2 separate regions of the Homo sapiens genome follow, and region 1 is linked to region 2. The links are contacts of gene promoters, found by promoter capture Hi-C in human tissues and cell types (Jung and others, 2019). All regions are on one chromosome and are shown on one strand. Each heading gives the region's core, a stretch centred on a gene start or on the middle of the fragment in contact. The rest is flanking DNA. Distances are from core to core; before and after follow the strand shown. Region 1 has its middle 40 kb from the start of PDK4-AS1. Region 2 holds the start of PDK4 (pyruvate dehydrogenase kinase 4).

Region 1 (4,064 bases), core at 1,533-4,032, 41 kb after region 2:
AACCAAGTGGAAATGAAGTCATTAGGGTTGGCCCTAATGTAATATGACATTAGGTATCTCTATTTAGAAAAAGAGAAATTAGAAGACAAAGTGGAGACTATGCAAAGATACAGGGAGAAGGCCATGGAAACATGAAGACAGCCATTTACAAGCCAAGGAGAGAAACAACCCAGCCAATACTTTCATTCTGGACTTCTAGACTCTAGGACTGTGGGGCAGTAAATTCCTGTTGTTTAAGCCAGCCAGTATGCGGTACTTTGTTACTGAAATCCTAGCAAACTAATATATTGACCTTCCAACACTGAGAAAGGCAAGTGGTACAAAGCTAACCACATTTCAATTATCATAACTCTATAAGTGAGAAACTGCTAGAAAGTAAATTGTGGAATTTGTTTTAGGTGAATGAAGGCCAATGGGCAGGCTTTTCTAGGACTAGAGGTAAGAAAACAATGTACTAATGTATACTTTTCCTTTAACCAAACCATTTATCTTTATTGCAAAAAATAATACAATTATAATGTCCTGACTCCAATTCTGATACTTTTTTCCTACAAATTTCCACTCACTGAGAATTTATAAAAAGAAAATAATTCAAAAGCCCATCACCTTAATAAATAAATGTTTGGATTTTTGCATTTATTCTTTATTTTAATCTAGATGAATGCTTAATTCCTCTTACATTTAATCATAATATAGGAGATTTGTAGTTCAATTTTCCCCTTTAACAGTGATTCTCAACCAGTGTCATTTTGATAATTTCCACCCATAGGCCAGGACTTTTGGCAACATCTGGAGACATTTTTGGTTGTCACAGCTGGGGTGATGGTGCTACTGATATCAAGTGGGTAGAAACCAGTGATTCAGCTCACATCTTATAATACACAAGACAATCCCCCAACACCAACTAGTAGAATCTGGCCCAAAATGTCAGTGGTGCTGGGGTTGAGAAACTTTGTCTTTCAGTAAGATATCATCAATGTTTTCCATGTTGAATAATAGCTGAGTGGTCTTTACAATATTTTCTGCACAAAATTCCTTTTCTGCACACTATTCTATTAAATTAATGTATTATAATTTATCTAACCAATAACCATGTAATGTGCTATTCAGGATGTTTCTAACGTCTCACTATTATAAATAAAGGTGCAAGTATTTTTTTATTTACATAGCTTTTTAGATGATCTTAAAGAAAAATTTCCAACACTGAGATTTAGATTAAAGGCTATGAGTACGCCAAACAGCAATTATTTCCTTTGTCAGTGAGAAATGGTTATAAGCCTTACTTACTGATATACATGCTTTTCTTTCTAGGGAAGCACTTTAATTTTTCTCATTTCTGAGTTGCCACAGGACTTTCACAGTGTGTTCAAGGATTGTCCTTTATTCTTTACCACAACTAAAGAATATAAGTAACCTCATCAAAATTTTCCTAAGACCATTAATGACTCATTACTTCATTTTAGAGGTCACTGTGGCCTACCACTGATTCAACCTTAAATCATCACTGCTACTTGACTCTGAACAGCTTTTATCAAAGCAGAACCAGGTAACATCCACTTGATCACAGTTAGAAGTATGCTCCTAACTCACTTACAGGAAGTAATCGGTTAACCGATCACAAGTTATCACAAGCTTACTTCTTAAAGGGGCCTCTTCCTTTTCCTTTGGAATCATGTAAAAGTTACTTTACATTACAAAAGCATTAGACAGCAAGTTATAAAGCACTAGGCTTGAACTTTTAAGACTGTACTAAAGGGTGAGTGGGTTATTAGAATAACAACAACAACAAAAAAAATACCATGAGGACCTATCCTTTCTTCATGTTACTAAGGAGTCCTCTTAGTAACCAAGACATTCTTTCAAAGAAAAAAACAAATGGTTGTAGGTGACAAAAGGTGACTTTTCCATGGCCCTGTGAAACAAACCATCCCTTTACACCCTTTGTCTCTCTGCCTAGACAGCCCCAGCTAAGTAAAAGATTGTGGTAGTCAGGTCTCTGGGCAGGTGGTATCCAGCACCACATTGAAAATATATCCTAGGTGCAGTAATGGGATGAGAATGGAGACAGCTGCTGAATGATGAAGGTGGGAGTGCACAAGGGTGAAGTGATGAAACAGGTACAGAAACACTTGCTTTCACAGGTCAGATGGGCCGGGGCAATATTCTAATACTAACCTGTGGGATAATATATATATATATAATATATATATTTGGGATAACAAATATATATATATATATATATATTTGGGATAACAAATATATATATATATATATATTTGGGATAACAAATATATATATATATATATATTTGTTACTTATTTGCCAGGCCCTCATCACAAATGGCCACTGAAGGAATAGCATAATTGCTAATCTATTTCCATGGACTCCAACTCCCATTTCCATGGACTCCCAGAAACCAGGCAGCAACCGCAGACAGGAAACCTGTCTTGATTTTACTGAGGCATCTCAGATGCCTCCTTTTTGTTTTAAAGCATAATGAGGACAGGATATGCATAAATGACCAGAATTTCCAAGAGGGCAGGGACAATTCTGGGAAGCTTGACATCAGGTTCTATCAAAATCATCTCATAGAATTCTTAAAAAACAAGTGCCAAGTGTAAAAATAAGCTAATATATTAAAGAGGAATAAATGTAAAGCCAGATCTAAAGTTAAATTAATTAAAAGATAAGTTGGAATGTTCTGTTTACTTTAAATTGTCAACAATAAAACCAAGTGGAAATATTTGAACATCTACAGATTATTTTTAAAAATGCAAACATGAAGCCAATTAATTCGAGATGAAATTTATCTACATGACAATATTTTCTTTCAGGCAGTGAAGAGGTGTAAAGGACAATTTATCATGCCATATGTTTGTTTTTTATGGATTTCTTGAGGGAGAGACTGTAAAATAAGCATAACAAAATAACAGTCAAATTATTTTTTTTTAACAAAAGTGACCCATGCTTCACCAGTTAGATTATGGTTTGCATAGTCTGGTATTCTCAAAAAGCAAAAACTTTTTTACAGACTTCATCTGAGGAAGAGATCCCAGGAATTGAAGTGGAGGACAGTGGCGAGTGAAGCAGAGACAGTGACAAAGCCAGCACAAGGATGCATTCTTGAGTTAGTCACTGCTGTGGGCAACTGAGACTCTGATAATCAGTGTAGTCTATGCCTCAGAGTGGACCATCCAGGGGATGGGTGGGGGCATTTATCCACCCGCTCCCATTCTCCATTGATGAAGACTTGCCCTCTGGCATTAACTCGCTTGCACTTCCAGGTTACACAAGTGTGGAAGTGTGGCAGGGTCTCAAGGGGTCCTTCAAGGTGGTAGCAGAAAAACTACCAAAGTCAGAAAGCGAGAGAAAAGTGGTGAAGCTCACATGAGGTGAGCAGAGGAGCTGGCTGTAGCAATGTCTGTAGTGACAGGTGAGCTCAGAGGAAGAGAAACAGAAACAAGAGGAGTCCACTGCATCTCACGACCCAGTTCTAATTACTCGCTGTGACTGTCAGGAGTCTAGTATTGAGAATAATTCAGCCCAGTGATGCTGAACTCAACAGCAAAGGGCCCAATGTTTATGAGGGTGTGAGTTATGGTATTCCTTAAATTCAATCTCATTTTATGTCATCTGGATAATAGAGGGTCATGCCTGTGTCCTCTTTGATGGAAGAGAGGTACAGGAGGACTGTGGCTAATGGGGTAGCCAGAAACCAACATGACTTACTCTACATGTACTCTTTCATAGGAATGTTTAGATACCACTCAGAGATGTAAAATAGAATAAGATTCTTTTGTCAGTGTCTAAACATTTCTGTATGATTTGGACTGGCAGAGAATAACCAATTCTTTGCTTTGGTTTTCTTTGAATTGAAGAGAATGACCTATCAAAAGTATGGCAATGATAATTTTCTACATAAATATTGTTAGAAGGTGAAATGGTACTTACTTTTTAAAGAAGAAAAAAACTGTATATTATACACAATCTATAGATCTCTGAGTCTCTAATATTCTAGTTACACATCTAATTTTAGCCACGTCCTTCATGCTATGTAGCTTTGG
Region 2 (3,899 bases), core at 1,165-3,664:
TCTACTACATTCATTCATAGAAGAGTGTAAGTCTTGACTGCAATAGTAAATACTACAGATTGAATATATGTTTTAGATTGTAATTGTCTTATAGGTATATAATACATGTATTTCTTGAATCAATGAACAAAAGGCTGTGCAGTCAGTGGATTAAGATAAGGGTCTCATGCATGTCTGCTACCTGTGCATATCCTGCTTCTGTGACCCAAAAATTTGCTGTTTTGGGTTACCTACCTTCTCTAAGCATCAGTATCTTCATTTATAAAATGAGATGACAACAACTGACACTTACTGACTGCTGGCTGTGTGCCAAGTGCTGTCCTAAGTGGTTTTTTTTTTCTTTTTTATGGATTATCTCATTTCATTACACTCAAACATCCCTCTGAGGCATATACTTTAATCTCTTTAATAACAGATGGGAATAATAACTCAATGGCATAAAGAGTTTAAGACACTTGCCAAGGATTCCACAACTAGAAGTGACAGAGGCAGGATTTGAACCCAGAGCCCACTCTGTCAATCACTTTGTAAGTTACAAAGATTAGGCCTTCCCTAAATAGCAGTCATGTGAATTGGTTTCTAGGCATAGGATTTCTTTTGCAATATCAAACTCTTTTATTATTGAAAGTGCTCTTCTATAATTGAAAATTAAAATTGCATGCCAATTTTTTTCAAATTTTTCCTAGAACTCAAAATTTTATTATAAAGTAATCTACTTTTTCAGGGTAAAAATGTCTGTTTATAGTTTTATAACTTCTCTAATGATAACTTACCCTAAATTAATTTTAAAATTCTTACATCTTTCAAAAGTAGTTACCATTCAGATCACCTGTTTTCCAATTATGATGTTAACATAGTATAAGAATTCATACCCGGGTAACTGTTTCAAAACTAGAGACTTCAATATGGTTCACCACTTACCAGCTTTTAACCAATTGCACTGAAGAGGTATTTACTAATTGGGTCGGGAGGATATCAATTTCCTTCAGAATGTTGGCGAGTCTCACAGGCAATTCTTGTCGCAAAAATGCAAAAGAAGTTCTTTCACATGCATTTTCTGAACCTATAATAAATGAAATCAATTTAGTTTTGAGAAAAAGTGTGTCTAAATGATATATCTAAATAGCATTAACTATCAAATATTGAACACACATATATTATAAAATTATATTTCACTCTCAGTTGGGTTACTGTTAATCGATAATTCAGGGGCGATTGTCTCCTTAATTGACTAATTCCCTTCGTCCTTTCGTCTTTCCTTCTTTCTTTTAAAAAGTGACAGATATAGGAGAATTATTGTCTTCTCTTTTTGAAGAGGATTCACTTCCAAGAAGTAAGAATATCCCACAGTTCTTAGAATTTATAAAAGACTGCAGGATTCGGTCACACCACAATGTCAACAACACAACATCCTTTAATGAGTGGGGACATGGAATTGGAGTTGGGGGATAAGAGGCTGGAGGGGGAGCTGTGATATTTCCAGAGTAGTGATATCACATTTAAACCCTTGAAATCTTCCTTATAAGATTACTGCAACAAATGTGTAAATATTTTCAGCAACAATGCAAATATATGGAAAACTATAATGATAAAGAGACAAAGAAATCTGTCAGGAATGCAGAGAGATGTACCCTGTGGAAGGATGCCAGGTGGCTAAGGAATAAAATCTGTTAATTTGAGGCTATTTAATACTATTCAGAAACTTCTCCAAGCAGTACTATGCTGTGAAGGAGAGGATAAAGTTTCCAGTCCATTGTTAAACGGTGACCGAAAGCAAAAAGTATTTTGACTGGAAGAGCGGGTCAGAAAGAAGAGTGTGCAGATGAAGTCAAACCATCCAGCGTCGGCAGGCTTGCAGGTGGCCTTGACCTGGAGGCACCCCTGTCAGAAAGTAACCAAATCTAGGAAAAGGAAAGGTGTGCTGGCGTCGAGGCTCCAGGGCTCAGCAGCAAAGTGAACCCCAGTTGTTTTAGCTTGAGCCTAGCCCTCCCTCTACCAAGGCTGAAAGTTAAGGCAGTTCCCCAACCCTAGGACCCAGCTTGGGCCCTGTGTCCCCTCTCACCAAAGTCCAGTAGCTGCTTCATGGACAGCGGGGACGGGCTGTAGCGCGAGAAATGCTCCACCTCTCGGGGCACCAGGCCGGCGCCGTTGAGCGAGCCAGCGCTGCGCAGCACGAAGCGGGCCGCCTTCATCTTGACGCCCACCCGGCCTGGCGGGGACTGTGGCTGGCTTGAGGGGCGAAGGCTGCTCGGAGCAGAGCCTGGTTCCGAGGGGGCGCGGCGCGTCCGGGCGAGGACTGCAGGTGCGCTGGCTGGCTTGTGCGCCCCGGCCTGGGCTGGGGTTTGAGGGTGCCGCGGAGTGAAGAGTCTGGGCAGAGTCGGAGATGCAGTGGTTCGAGATTCAAGTTCAAGTCTTCCCACCAGCCGCCGCCGCCCGAGGTTTTATTTGTCTCCCCGCACTCTCCCCCCGAGTCCCAAACAGGAGGAGTCACTGGAACTTGGAAACGCGTCCTGAACTCCAGGTCGCGCCAATCAGATCAGAGAAAGAACTATGGGCTCCGCCCCTCCAGCCGCGGTCATCACAGAATGGCCTGGCACGGTGACCACGGAGTGCCCTGGCACCGGTGCCCGCGGCTGTGACGGAAAAAGGGTGGGAAGAACAGGGAAGAGGAAGCAGAAACAGGTATCTGGGGCAACGTGGGCTTAAGATTAGCCTCTTGGGACGGGGCTCCGAGTCGCGTGGGCTGGGGTCCCGCCCAGGCTCGCCCTTGTTTACAACTCGGAGGCTGTCTCAATGTCAAGTACTCCTGGCCACAAACTGTTTCCAAGAGTTTGGACTCCGCGTGCTCATTGGTCCTTGCTCAGAGCAGGGCTTTTACAGTAGCCAACAAGCTGCGTTCAAAAGTATGGGCTTCTCTGCCACTGGACAGAGAGAAAGGAATAAACAACCTAAAGACCTGCGCCCCCACCCCCACCGCCCCCTTTTCTTCAGAAGAGACCGGCACATGGCAGGAACTGTACGTTCCTTTTGCTGAGACTTGAGGGGCTGCCCAGATACATTTACTTTTTCCTGTGGTAATAAAAGGCCATCAATTCGTTCTTCTCCGGCAACACATTCTTTCCGTTAGGTTTAGTTCTGTTAATTAAAAACAAAATTAAAAAGGGATCAATTTGTCAGTTTGCCTTACCTTTTGCGGTGATCAGAGAATTTGTTCACTCTGCCCTGTACGAAATGTCCTTACTCCAAATCTTTACCTAAGACATTCCATTCTACCCTCAAATGTCTGGCACAAGCTGTCTGCTGCAAAAGGTCTTCCTTGATTACTTCTCCTCACTTCTTCCAAATAAGGCCTTGGTCTTTCATGGTACTATTCTATAGCTATTTATGTTTTTATATTATCCCTCTCTGACTCCCCCCTTTCCTGAAAGAGATCAGGGTAGGGACCCTGTCTGATGCAGCTTTGTGATTCCTACTTTTTCACTACTCAATATTTATTAAATTAATGACAGTGGTTGAGACACATTACCCTGTCATACTAACCTCCTTTTCCTCTCCCGACACTCTAAAAGGACTAGGGAATGAAGCCACCGTGTTTGGGAAAGTTGGGAGTAAGAGAGTTGGTTACAAATGTAATAGAATGGGAATTTATGAGGTGTTAAAAATGATAGTTTGTTATAAAAAACCTTTTTGGCCTCCTCCCCCTGCGTTTATTTTATTTTAATTAATTAATTAATTACTTTATTTATTGAGACAGAGTCACACTGTCTCCCAGGCTGGAGTGCAGTGGTGCCATCTCGGCTCACTGCAACCTCGGCCTCCCAGGTTCAAGCGATTCTGCTGCCTCAGTCTTCTGAGTAGCTGGGATCACAGGCACACGCCACCACACTCAGCTAATTTTT

What was found. The method cuts DNA at HindIII sites, captures the fragments that hold promoters and counts their contacts. A contact is called where the count stands out against the background at its distance.
Region 1: a fragment that was not itself captured here is called in contact with the fragment with the promoter of PDK4 in region 2 in 2 of the 25 tissues and cell types used here (H1 embryonic stem cells and heart right ventricle).

The regions. Positions count from the first base shown.
Region 1 is chr7:95,634,837-95,638,900 of GRCh38, forward strand. No RefSeq gene overlaps it. Among named protein-coding and RNA genes, the nearest start is that of PDK4-AS1, 40 kb to the left of the region's middle. The HindIII fragment of the contact is 6,474 bases long and covers 1-4,064 here.
Region 2 is chr7:95,594,102-95,598,000 of GRCh38, forward strand. PDK4 (pyruvate dehydrogenase kinase 4) reads right to left here and starts at 2,415. Exons shown (of 11, transcript NM_002612.4): 1 at 2,063-2,415; 2 at 922-1,063. The coding sequence starts at 2,192. It overlaps PDK4-AS1 (PDK4 antisense RNA 1), which reads left to right and starts at 2,578. Exons shown (of 3, transcript XR_001745287.3): 1 at 2,578-2,682. RefSeq lists a silencer at 1,696-1,990. The HindIII fragment of the contact is 14,852 bases long and covers 1-3,899 here.